Regions from separate parts of the Homo sapiens genome. Here all the other regions are linked to region 2. Evidence: promoter capture Hi-C in 16 types of primary human blood cells and fetal thymus (Javierre and others, 2016). All regions are on one chromosome and are shown on one strand. The core of a region is centred on a gene start or on the middle of the fragment in contact, and the rest is flanking DNA. Distances in the headings are between cores, read along the strand shown.

Region 1 (4,215 bases), core at 1,327-3,826, 380 kb before region 2:
TCCTCACTAGGAAAAAAAAGTTTGTGTGAAAAGCTGGATCCAACCATTATCAGTTTTGAAATAAATTCCTTTCTGAAATAAAATATTAGAAACATAAGCATTTAAACAAAAAATTTTGTTTTTCAACATCATTTTATCCTTTATATACCATTACACTTACAGAATCTGACACATAATTTCTCTGCTGTTAAGAAATAGCAGTATGGGCCGGGTGCGGTGGCTCAGGTCTGTAATCCCAGCACTTTGGGAGGCCAAGGCAGGTGGATCACGAGGTCAGGAGTTCAAGACCAGCCTGGCCAAGATGGTGAAACCCCGTCTCTACCAAAAATACAAAAATTAGCCAAGTGCAGTGGCAGAGGCCTATAATCCCAGCTACTTGGGAGCCTGAAGCAGGAGAATCACTTGAACCCGGGCAGCAGAGGTTGCAGTGAGCCAAGAAAACGCCACTGCATTCCAGCCTGGACGACAGACTCCGTCTCACAAAAAAAAAAAAAAAAAAAAAAAAACAAAAAAAAAAAAAAGGAAGAAGAAAGAAAGAAAGAAATAGCAGTATGCTGGGCCGGGCGCAGTGGCTCACTCCTATAATCCCAGCATTTTGGGAGGACGAGGCAGGCAGATCACCTGAGGTCAGGAGTTCAAGACCAGCCTGGCCAACATGGCGAAACCCCATCTCTACTAAAAAAATACAAAAATTAGCTGGGCATGGTGGCAGGCGCCTGTAATCCCAGCTACTCGGGAGGCTGAAGCAGGAGACTCCCTTGAACCCGGGAGGTGGAGGTTGCAGTGAGCCCAGATCATGCCACTACACTCCAGCCTGGGTAACAGAGCAAGACTCCGTCTCAAAAAAAAAAAAAAAAAGAAAAAGAAAAAGAAAAAGGCTGGGCACGGTGGCTCACGCCTGTAATCCCAGCACTTTGAAAGGCCAAGGCGGGTTGATCACGAGGTCAGGAGTTCGAGACTGGCCTGGCCAACATGGTGAAACCCCATCTCTACTAAAAAAATAAAAATTAGCTGGGCATGGTGGCGGGCATCTGTAATCCCAGCTACTCGGGAGGCTGAAGCAGGAGAATCATTTGAACCTGGAAGGCAGAGGTTGCAGTAAGCCGAGATCGTGCCACTGCACTCCAGCCTGGGTGACAGGGCGAGACTCCATCTCAAAAAAAAAAAAAAAAAAAAAAAAAAGAAAGAAAGAATGAAAGAAAAGAAATAGCAGTAAGCTATAAAATGCTAAGACTAAAAATTTTACTAATATGCAGTTCCTCCAATGCTAAAAAGCTTGAAGAAAAAGAGTACCACTAAACATCCTGGACCCAGGAAACTGGTTTCTGAGTCAAAAAAGATAATTAAACAGGTAGTAAAATGTATTGTGTAACAAAACTAAAAATTTTAAACATTTCTCAAAATTTTTCTTCACTCACTGCTAACAAACCAAATTTTTTTTGTGTGTAAACCTGAATTCTTTAAAGGTAATTTTAAAATTTTATCCGTGGTAATCCTGCGGTTTTCAAGAATGCCAAAATAGGCCAGGTGTGGTGGCTCACACCTATGATCCCAGCACTTTGGGAGGATCTCTTAAGAGCCCAGGAATTCGAGACCATCTGGGCTACACAGTGAGACCTTGTTTCTACAAAAAAATTTAAAAATTAGCCAGGCATGGGGTGGTGTGCACTTGGGGTCCCAGCTACTCAGAAAGCTGAGGTGGGAGGATCACTTGAGCCGAATAGGTCGAGGGTGCAGTGAACCGAGATCTGCCACTGTACTTCAGCCTGGGCAACAAAGCAAAACACTGCCTGCCACCATTGCTCCTGCCCTCCAAAAACACCTTAAATTATGATTTTAGGATTTTGCAAGTGCTTTTAAAGCTTTAAGTGAGTCTTAAATGTCCGGTATTCTTGGGGTTTTTTAAGACGGTGGGGAAAAATGTTAAGAGGAAAAGCTGACAGCTCACAAAATAAATGTTAAAACTTTGATATAATAAGTAATGGCTTTGTCTAAACATACGCTAAACAGATCTTTTGAATTCTGGTTTAAAATCACATTATTTTTGCTTTCTCTTTAGCCCATAATTTTGATGTCAATTACTAGTTGTTCCTAAAATATATAATCAACATTTTCACCAACTTTTATTTTATTTTTTGGCAGACAGGGTCTGACTCTGCCACCCAGGCTGGAGTGCATGGCATGATCTCTTGGCTTACTGCAGCCTCAACCTCCTGGACTCAAGCGATCCTCCCATCTCAGTCTCCCAAGAAGCTGGGACTACAGGCACACGCCACCATGCCTGGCTAATTTTCTTATTTTTTGGAGAGACAGGGTCTAGCCATGTTGGCCTGCCTTGGCCTCCCAAAGTGTTGGGTTTACAGGCATGAGCCACTGCACCCAGCCTCCCTGTGGATTTCTTAAATAAAACCTATAGAAACACTAACCACAGAGAAAATAAAAGGACAAATTCCACATTATAATCAATAATTTGTTCATCGAAAGATGCCATAAGGCTGGGTGTGGTGGCTCACACTTGTAATCCCAACAGGTTGGGAGGCTGAAGTGGGAGGATCGCTTGAGAGCAAGAGTTCAACACCAGCCTGGGCAACAAAGTGAGACCTCTATTATTCAACAACAACAACAAAGCCATAAACTAAATGAAAGAACTCATTGTGAAAGAAGACATTTATATCACACACAAATGACAAAGAACTAGGAAAAAAAAAAGAAACAGCAAAAGACAAACACTTCAGCACAAGAAGAAATCTAAATGACAAACATTAAAAGATGCTCGGACAGACACGGTGGCTCACGGCCAGGTGCGGTGGTTCACGCCTGTAATCCCAACACTTTGGGAGGCTGAGGTGGGTGGATCACCTGAGGTCAGGAGTTCACGACTGGCCTGACCAACATGGTGAAACCCGTCTCTACTATAAACACAAAAATTAGCTGGGCGTGGTGGCAGGCACCTGTAATACCAGGTACTTGAGAGGATGAGGCAGGAGAATCGCTGGAACCCAGGAGGCGGAGGTTGCAGTGAGCTGAGACCACACCACTGCACTCCAGCTTGGGCAACAAGAGTGAAATTCCGTCTCAAAAAAAAAAAAAATACGCTCAACATGTTTTAAGGCTTAAATGATTCATGGAGTAAGTCCGAATGTCTCTGTAGCTCATCAGACTGTTCATGATTGGATCTCTGCTTAACTTCTCCAATGCTCCCTCCTCCTCCTTTCATCCTACCCACAATTTGCAGACCTTCCTCTTCCTGAACCAGCTTCCCACTCTCACTATAATCTGTCTAAGCTTATTTGTCCTTCTGGTTTCGGTTTACAGAGCTGAGAGCCTAGCCTGACCCGCATCCTCTCCGTCCCCTTTCCACTTGGAGTCTACAATTGCCTCTTTGCTTTGTCCTGTTCATGGTTGTATCCAGGATCCATAATGCCTAATGCTGTGCTCGGCAGAGTGATCTAGACACTGCAGTTTCTTTAGAAACCTAGTATCAAATGCCCATCTTTCTTGAATACCCTGGAATCCTCTCCATAACGGGAGGTGAAATGTATACGTTTTATTTTTACAAGTCTCTTAAACTCAACCTCAAGAAACAAATAACATACGCTATTCAATATGAATGTAAAGTACATCCTTACAATAAATACACCCGTTTGGTTTGGATTCAACAATCAATTCATGCTCAAGTAAACAATACGTCATGCTTTTCTAACCAGGAGTTTGTTATTGCGGATGCTGGCTCTGTTCCCCACAAGCATATTCTACTAATGCACAACTATATATATTTAAACTGCGGGAAAGGGTCGCTTAAACAAGGGTAACACTATAATTACACTTAGAAAAATCTCAGAATTCCTTTAGGACACTTTAAACTGGATTTAAATGGATTTGAAATCCATTACTCAAAACCACTAACTAGCGGCCGGGCACGGTGGCTCACACCTGTAATCCCAGCACTTTGGGAGGCTGAAGTGGGTGGACCACTTGAGGTCAGCAGTTTCAAGACCAGCCTGGCCAACATGGTGAAACTCCATGGTGAAAAATCAGCCGGACCGCGGTGGGCACACCCGTAATCCCAGCTACTCGGGAAGCTGAGGCAGGAGAATCACTTGAACCCGGCGGGCAGAGGTTGCAGTGAGCCGAGAAAGCGCCACAGCACTCCAGCCTGGGCGACAGAGCGAGACTCCATTTCAAAACAAAACCAAACAAAAAACACGAACTGGC
Region 2 (4,169 bases), core at 686-3,185:
ACCTCAGCCTCCCAAAGTGCTGGGATTACAAGCGTGAGTCACTGCGCCCGCCCTGTTTTAAAGTCTTATGTAAAATCTATGTAGGTCAGGTGCAGTGGCTAATACCTGTAATCCCAGCACATCGGGAGGCCAAGGTGGGTGGATCACTTGAGGTCAGGAGTTTGAGACCAGCCTGGCCAACATGGTGAAACCCCATCTCTACTAAAAATACAAAAATTAGCTAGGCGTGGTGGCACGTGCCTGTAATCCCAGCTACTCCGGTGGCTGAGGCAGGAGAATCGCTTGAACCCAGGAGGTGGAGGTTGCAGTGAGCCAGGATTACACCACTGAACTCCAACCTGGGCGACACAGTAAGACTCCGTCTCAGAAAAAAAAAAAAAAAAAACATTTCAGACTTTTCATTGGCTACAGCATAAAATTTCAACAGCTCAACACCACACTAAAAGCCTTTGGTCATCTAACCCCACCCACCTGGGCCAGTCTCCTTCCTTTTCTACACCAGCAACGCCAATCTACCTCGTTTCAAGCCCTCTCCCTAGCAAACTTCTAGTCCACCAAGACTCAACGTGGACTTTGGTGTCTCATATAACGCCTCTTCCGTTGTATGAGACTCTTCCAAAGTCTTCCGTCTTTGGCGATCCTGCCTTGGCGCCTCTTGTAACCTCTTACAAGCTCACCTCCATAAGCCTCCAACTTGAATTGTAATTATTTCTGCCTTGCTGTCCAATAGTGATCTCTATGAAAGTAGAGGTATTTCTTTTTTCATCTAGTGTCCATAACCCTGCCTAACACATTTATATCTAACGAATGAAACATTTTTCATCAGGAGTATCGCATTTGCACTAGTCCTCTAGTCAGGACTAGAATCCACAACTCTGCTCCCCCTAGGATGCTCTTTTCATTAGCATAACTACATAGCTGCAAGAAAGCGCAAAGAAAACAGGGAGAGAAGAGGTTAACTAGGCCTATCCAGAACATTTGGCCCACATAGGGTGAGACGTTTGTAGCTTTCCAGGGAGAGATAATCCTGGATAGATGGGGTCGGGTGACGGAGAGCACTGAATGCTGAGCTGAAGCAGATAGCGTCCATGACTGGCCCAAGGTCACACGTTAATAAGCAGAGGGGCAGCGACTTGATCCCAAGCAGCCCAGCTCCAGAGTCCGTTGGTCCTGACCACTTCATCATACTGCTCTTCAACGGCGCTCCATTACCAGACCCTTAGCTGGACCGGCGGTATAAATGGGAGCGTCGTGGGAGCAGAATTACGTGTCATAAAAGGGTCTCCTAAACCCCCAGTCTATTTTAAATCTCACTCCTGGCTGCTGTTTGTTAATAAGAGATTCTGGCCGTGTTTGTAATGAGCGCTACATGTAGGGCCAAGGCGAGGAATGCGACTGCTGGAAAATGAACTAGAACAATGCATTAAAATGCCTGGCACGACGTAAACACTCCGTGATCACAAGTTCAGATCCGGGGCGGCTGGAGAGGCACGGGTTTCAGGGCTGAGGGGGGCGTCCCTCCGGAGCCAAGCAGAACCTGGGGACGGCGGAATCCGCACAAGCACCAACGTTCCGCCCCCGTGCCTCCGCACTGGAGAGGCTGCTCACCGCCCACTCTCTGAGGCGGGAAAGGAGCCGCGCCACAAGGCCCCGGGTCCCTCCCCAGCACGCGCCGTCCCGGCCCTCACCTGCCGGCCCCATGTACTTGATCACCCCCTGGGTCTTGAACACCTCCCGGGCGGCCAGCAGCGCGTCCTCGCCGTGCGCCGTATAGAAGTCGCCCCGGTCGAAAAGGCGCACTGTGGTGGTCGGCTTCTCCGGCATGCCCTGAAAGAAGCGCACGAAGCCGACCTCGGCCGCGCTCTCCAACTGCAGCGTCTCCTTCGGCTGCACCGCCATGTCGAAACCTCCTCACCTCCTGGTTGAAGAAAATGCGCGACCCCACACCCACTAAGCTGTTTCCCGCCTCCCCTCCCACGTCCCCCGAGCGGCGTCCGGCCACGGCGACCACACCCAATCAGCTTCCAGGGCTGCGTTTCGGTGGGTGGGAGTCTGCCGCGGCAACCAATCATAAGCAGACGCGGCCCAGCTTCCCGCGCACGCTGGTGACTTTAGCTACTGCGCATGCCTGCGCCTAGGTCGCGCGGAAACCCGCAGACGCGCATCCTTAGTAGAGCTCCTTTCTGTGTTTACTCAGCTGCAAGGCTTGAAGCCCCTGGGTGGGGTGTATGCAAGGGTAGGTTGCCACCAGGTGGGAGATTTCCGGCAGGCACTGAGCTCGTAATGTGCCCGGAAGCATGGGAGTAACATCAGAAGGAAACTTGAAAACAAAAAAAAAACTAGCCTTCCTCCTCCTCCCAGTATTTTGTTAAAACGTGTGCCCCTCTCCGACTGCCTCCCTTTTTCTTTCTAAGCAAACTGCCAACATCGGGATTACGGGTTTATTCTACACAGCCTCCTTACTGCTGCCTGTTAGCCACATTATCGTTTCATCCACTCGTTGATGATTCACTCATTCGAAAACATTTATATGGCCTGCTATGTCCCAGACTCTTCTTGGCTCTGAGGATCGCCAGTAAAAAGAAAAATCACTGCCTTTATTCTGCTTACATTCTAATATGAGAAAATTCAGATAATGAATATAGCAAGTAAATGAAATGGTACGTTAGAAGATATGCGTTTGTGGCAGGGCGCGGTAGCTCACGCCTGTAATCCCAGCAATTTGGGAGGCCGAGGTGGGCGGATCACTTGAGCCCAGGAGATTGACACCATCCTGGGCAACATGGTAAAACCCACGTCTGTGATCCCAGATATTAGCAGGGCTGAGGCGAAAGGATCACCTGAGCCCGGGAGGTCGAGGCTGCGGTGAGCCGTAAATTGTGCCACTGCACTCCAGCGTGGGCGACAGATTGAAAACCCTGTCTCAAAAAATACAAAATAAAATAAATAAAAAGACAAACGTTTGACGCCAGGCGTGGTGTCACACGCCATAATCCCAGTACTTTGGGAGCACGAGCCAGGAGGATCGTTTGAGCCCAGGAGGTCTTCTGCCGTCAGCTATGTTCACGCCACTGCACCGCAGCTGGGGCGACAGAGCGAGAGACCCCGTCTTGAGGGGGGGTAGGGGAAGACCAGTTAAGGAAGAGGAAGGTTGAAATTTTAAAATGTTAGCAAACAGCCAGGCGCAGTGGCTCACGCCTGTAATCCCAGCGTATTGGGAGGCCAACGCGGGTGGATCACCTGAGGTCCGGAGTTTGAGACCAGCCTGGCCAACATGGCGAAACCCCGTCTCTACTAAAAATACAAAAATTACCGGGCATAGTGGTGGGCGCCTGTAATCACAGCTACTCGAGAGGCTGAGGCAGGAGAATCTCTTGAACCTGGGAGGTGGAGGGGGCAGTGAGCGAAGATCGCGCCACTACACTCCAGCCTCGGTGACAGAGCGAGACTCTGTCTCAAAAAATAAATAAAATGTTATCAAACACCTGAAGGAGCTCAGGATCCATCCTGCAAAATTAACTCTTAGAAAAGGTTTTTGCTGGCCGGGCGCGGTGGCTCACGCCTGTAATCCCAGCACTTTGGGAGGCCGAGGCGGGCAGATCACCTGAGGTCAGGAGTTCGAGACCAGCCTGACTAACATGGTGAACCTCCGTCTCTACTAAAAACACACACAAAATTAGCCGGGTGTAGTGGTGGGCACCTGTAATCCCAGCTACTTGGGAGGCTGAGGCAGGAGAATCCCTTGAACCTGGGAGGTGGAGGTTGCAGTGAGCCGAGGTCGCGCCATTGCACTCCAGCCTGGGCAACAGGGTGAGACTCTGTCTCAAAAAAAAAAAAAAAAAAAAAAAAGGTTTTTGCATTCTCCAGTTTAGTTTACCCTTTCCCCATGGAAGTGGTTCCAAAACCTAATTCAGCAGCAGAATCACCCTGGGGAGGTGGGGGGGGATTTAAACATATTCCTGTGCCCAGCCCACACATAATGGGTCTTAATTTCTGGAGTAGAGCCTTGGAACCTTTGTTTGTTTTTTTGAGAGGAAGTCTGGCTCTGTCACCACACTGGAGTGCAGTGGCGCAATCTCGGCTCACTGCCTCCCGGGTTCAGGCGATCCTCCTGCCTCAGCTTCCCAAGTAGCTATGACTACAGGTGTGCACCACCACCCCCAGCTAAT
Region 3 (4,272 bases), core at 1,451-3,950, 450 kb after region 2:
GGGGAAGCCAAATTCACCTTCCCAACTGGTCCTTCTGGCCTTTGTAAATCCACATTCCTCTTTTGCCTGTGCTTCCTCAGGTCCCCTTCCCCCTGGCCTAACCAGGTCCTCTTCTATCCTTTGGGGCCTTGCTCAGGCCCACCTTCTCCTGAAAGCCTCCTTGACTACCAGGGAGCTCCCTTCAGCTGAACTCCTCCAATGCCTCTACCAATGGGCCCATTCAGCCTCTGCACGCCTGACCTGCTCTCTCTATTAATTAACTCTCCAAAGCTGAATCTTTTGAGGGGATTTGCTAGTCTTCCCAGATAGGCCATCCACTCCCTGGGCCAGGGCCACAGATGACACATCCCAGAGGTATGTGGCCCACAGTCCTTCCAAGCTGGGCAGTGACTCTGCGTTCCCTGCACTGGTCTCAAGCCACGGGCTCATTTCCTCCCTGCTCGGGCTGCGTCTTCCTCGTGGGTGAGGGAGAGATAATAACACCTACTCCTCACTGCCTATCACAGCGATGCTGAAGGCATTAATAGGGCAAAGTCCAGAAAAGAGCTTTGAACTTTTCTTTGGAAAAGAGCAAGATAAATACAGGGTATGCGTATTTATCATTATCCTGCACATGGAGACAAGGGCAGTGAGGCAGAGAAGGACATTTCAGGCATGCTGATGGGGTGTGGCTAGTGGCGGTTCCTGGAGGACCAGTGGCAGTTTACAACAGAGCTTCCACCAAGCTGGGGAAAAATTAGACAATGCAGGGCATGTTTTATAAAGCCACATTTACACTATTTAAAAAAATGCTCGGCCGGGTACGGTGGCTCACGCCTGTAATCCCAGCACTTTGGGAGGTCGAGGCAGGCAGATCACCTAAGATCAGGAATTTGAGACCAGCCTGGACAACATGGTAAAACCCGTCTCTACTAAAAATACAAAAATTATCCGGGCGTGGTGGTGGGCGCCTGTAATCCTAGCTACTTGGGAGGCTGAGGCAGAAGAATCGCTTGAACCCGGGAGGCGGAGGTTGCAGTGAGCCAAGATCGTGCCACTGTACTCCAGCCTGGGTGACAGAGCGAGACTCCGTTGTCTCAAAAAAAAAAAAAAAAAAAAGGCTCTTAGTTCTGAAAGGATATCTACCTTGCCCTTTCAATGCTAAACTGTTTTTCTGTTATAGCACAGTAAGAGCAGAAGATGGTATCATTTTGCTGCTATTTTTTGCTTCTTAATGTCCTTACTTGGCAACATTAAGAGTCCACTGCACTCTGTGGGGCCCATGCATTTGAATGTGAAATATTCTTGGTCTATCAGTACAACAGTCAGGGAACGGAACCCCTTGCCCAGTGGGAGGGTGCCACGGGGGAGGTCGCTTTACCAGAGGAACAATCCCCTCTACTGTGTGGATCAGCGCATCACCTACTCCTTTTGTGCCTCACTGTCCCTGTCAATAAAAGGGGAAAAAGGACTTCATGGAGATATCCAGGTATGAGGAAAGAACGGATGAGGAAATACTTCACAGACTAACGTGGGAACTATAAAAGTGGGGGTGTGATCACCATCTTTCACATGAATCCAACTTTCCCAGTCATTATTTTATTTCCACCCCAGTACTCTGGGAGGCAGTACCAAGAAATGAGAGACAGCATTAGAGCATGGGCTGTAGACACTAAAGGCCTGGGTTGTGATCACCTTTCTTGGGTCTCAAGAGATGGAGCTTGGCAGGGCACAGTGGCTCACACCTGTAATCCCAGCACTTTGGGAGACCAAGGCAAGAGGATCGCTTGAAACCCAGAATCTGAGACCAGCCTGAGAAACACAGTAAGAACTGTGTCTCTACAAAAAATTGAAAAAAAAAAAAAAGAAAGAAAGAAAGAAAAAGAAATGGGGCTAATAGTAAATACCGTTGCAGAAGGTTCCTTGGAGGCCTGCATGCGATGGTGCAAAGCCTCAACCTAGTAGCAGAACAGAGTTTAGGACAAGTGGCTTGTTTTCACTGATCTCCACACAACTGAGCTGGACGGGGTCTTAGAGAGATAACCAAGAGGAAAGGGTTTCAAGCTTTCCCAAGGAGGGGCCTCAGGACCCACCTCTCCCAGCTCTCCTTCTCATCCAGCAGAGCTACTTGGATGCACAGGAATCCACCTGAGACTGCATCAGCTGCCAAGAAAGGTCACGCCAACTGTGACCTGATCTTTGCGGGTGAGATAGAAAATACTACAAATGATGGCCGGGCATGGTGGCTCACGCCTGTAATCCTAGCACTTTGGGAGGCACAGGTGACAGGACTGCTTGATCCCAGGAGTTTAAGACCAGCCTGAGCAATATGACAAGACTTTGTCTCTACAAAAAAATTTAAAAATTAGCTGGGTGTGGTGGTGCATGCCTATAGTCCCAGCTACTCAGGAGGCTGAAGCAGGATGATCACTTGAGCCCAGGAGGTCCAGTCTGCAGTGAGCCATGTTCACGCCACTGCACTCCAGCCTGGGTGACAGAGTGAGACCCTGTCTCAAAAAAGAATCCCACAAACGACATTTAATATATTATTTTACAGATCATCATTAAGTTTTTGGCTCTGGCCTGGATAACAGTAAATTTCTGCACATTATTGGTGCCTATATATGTCTTTGTTTAACAAAATATGGTACAATTTGTATTTAATAAAACCGTTGTCACAATACATGTGGTTACTATTCAGCCAATACAAAGAATGAGACAATACTGGCATGGAGAAAGCTCTAAATAAAACTTCTTGGTGAAAAATATATATCTTACAACTCTATGAAAAGAAATATCTGTGTGTATATATGTTTGTAAATGCACAAAGAAAGGCATAGGAGATGCACATCAAATACTGACCAGTGCTCAACTCTGAGGATGGGTGTGGGCATGAGGGTGAGGTTGGAAAACAAGAACTTTTTTTGTGTGTGTGAGACAGGATCTTGCTCTGTCACCCAGGCTGGAGTGCAGTGGCATGAACACAACTCACTGCAGCCCCAACCTCCTAGGCTCAAGTGACCCTCCAGCCGCAGCTTCTTGGGTAGCTGGGACCACAGGTGCAAGCCACCACGCCTAGCTAATTAAAAAAATTTTCTGTAGAGATGGGGTCTCACCATGTTGCCCAGTCTGATCTCAAACTTCTGGCTCAAGCAATCCTCCCACCTTAGCCTCCCAAAGTGCTAAGACTACAGGCGTGAGCCATAGGCCAGCTGGGACTTTTATTTATCACTCAAATTACTTATTTGTTGACTGGAATTTTTACAATAAGGCTGAATCATGTTTATTTTAAAAACAATTTTTAAATATTTAATTTAACATTTAATTATTAATTTAATATTTTTAAAACGAAAAGCGGTCTTGGTGGGAAAAGCTTGAACCCCACCAATCTGGTCCAACCCTTTTGACCAGCAGATGAGAAACTGGAAGGTCTGTGGGGTCAAGCATGCTCAGGGTCAGGCAGCTATTTTAACCCAATACAAACCTCCCAGTGCTACAATACCTGTCAAGGAGCCTAAAAGCAGTAACCTTAAACTTCTAGTACACACTCCCCTCTCCCCTGGCCTTTCCCTCCCTTACAAAATAAGCCCTGCACATCCTGGCCTGGTGTTCCAGTCTGCCCTTACTAGCCCCAAAGTACCTTTACAACCTTGTCTAGATCCAGCCCCAGAAGGATCCAATTCTAGTACTGCCATTACTCAGAGTCTGCTCTCTGCTTATCCCCAAAGAGCATCCCCCTCAGACTTGCTTCCTCGTGGATAGCACTCCTATCACGGTCTACCTTGGAGGAAGGCTATTTACTTGCTGATAGGACTTATCTTCCCAAGAGACCTGCAACCTCCTTGAGGGCAGGGTCCATGCTGGATTCGTCTTGATTGCCTTCAGAGTGCACAACACAATGCCTTGCACACAGTACGTTGGAATAAAAGGTTTAAGGAAGTGAATATATTACTTTGGAATAGCTCTTTAAAAATCAGCTGGGCGCAGTGCCTCACTCCTGTAATCCCAACGCTTCGGGAGGCTGAAGTAGGAGGATCGCTTGAGCCCAGGAGTTGGAGACCAGCCTGAGTAACACAGCGAGACCCTGAAGAAAATAAAGACAGACAGAAAGACAGAAAGAAAGAGAGAGACAGAGGGGAAGGAAGCAAGGAAGGAAGGGAGGGAGGGAGGGATCACTTCCTCTTTGAGTTTTTTTTTACCCCCTCCCCCTCCTCTTTTGAGTTTCTAATGACATACCCATGCCACTATTATAGTTCAGGATACATTGTAATCTAACACAGCCACAGCCTCAAA

What was found. The method cuts DNA at HindIII sites, captures the fragments that hold promoters and counts their contacts. A CHiCAGO score of 5 or more calls a contact.
Region 1: a contact is called between a fragment that was not itself captured here and the fragment with the promoter of MSH2 in region 2, in 2 of 17 cell types (fetal thymus and naive B cells). The highest score is 6.4, in fetal thymus.
Region 3: a fragment that was not itself captured here is called in contact with the fragment with the promoter of MSH2 in region 2 in 1 of 17 cell types (erythroblasts); the score reaches 5.5 in erythroblasts.

The regions. Positions count from the first base shown.
Region 1 is chr2:47,785,214-47,789,428 of GRCh38, reverse strand. The region is part of intron 1 of MSH6 (mutS homolog 6); the gene reads right to left. Among named protein-coding and RNA genes, the nearest start is that of MSH6, 4.2 kb to the right of the region's middle. The HindIII fragment of the contact is 1,423 bases long and covers 1,865-3,287 here.
Region 2 is chr2:47,400,922-47,405,090 of GRCh38, reverse strand. MSH2 (mutS homolog 2) reads right to left here and starts at 1,935. Exons shown (of 16, transcript NM_000251.3): 1 at 1,689-1,935. The coding sequence starts at 1,899. RefSeq lists enhancers at 1,349-1,408, 775-1,483, 1,484-2,194, 2,199-2,248. The HindIII fragment of the contact is 10,707 bases long and covers 1-4,169 here.
Region 3 is chr2:46,951,393-46,955,664 of GRCh38, reverse strand. The region is part of intron 2 of TTC7A (tetratricopeptide repeat domain 7A); the gene reads right to left. Among named protein-coding and RNA genes, the nearest start is that of TTC7A, 12 kb to the right of the region's middle. RefSeq lists a silencer at 241-535. The HindIII fragment of the contact is 1,309 bases long and covers 2,046-3,354 here.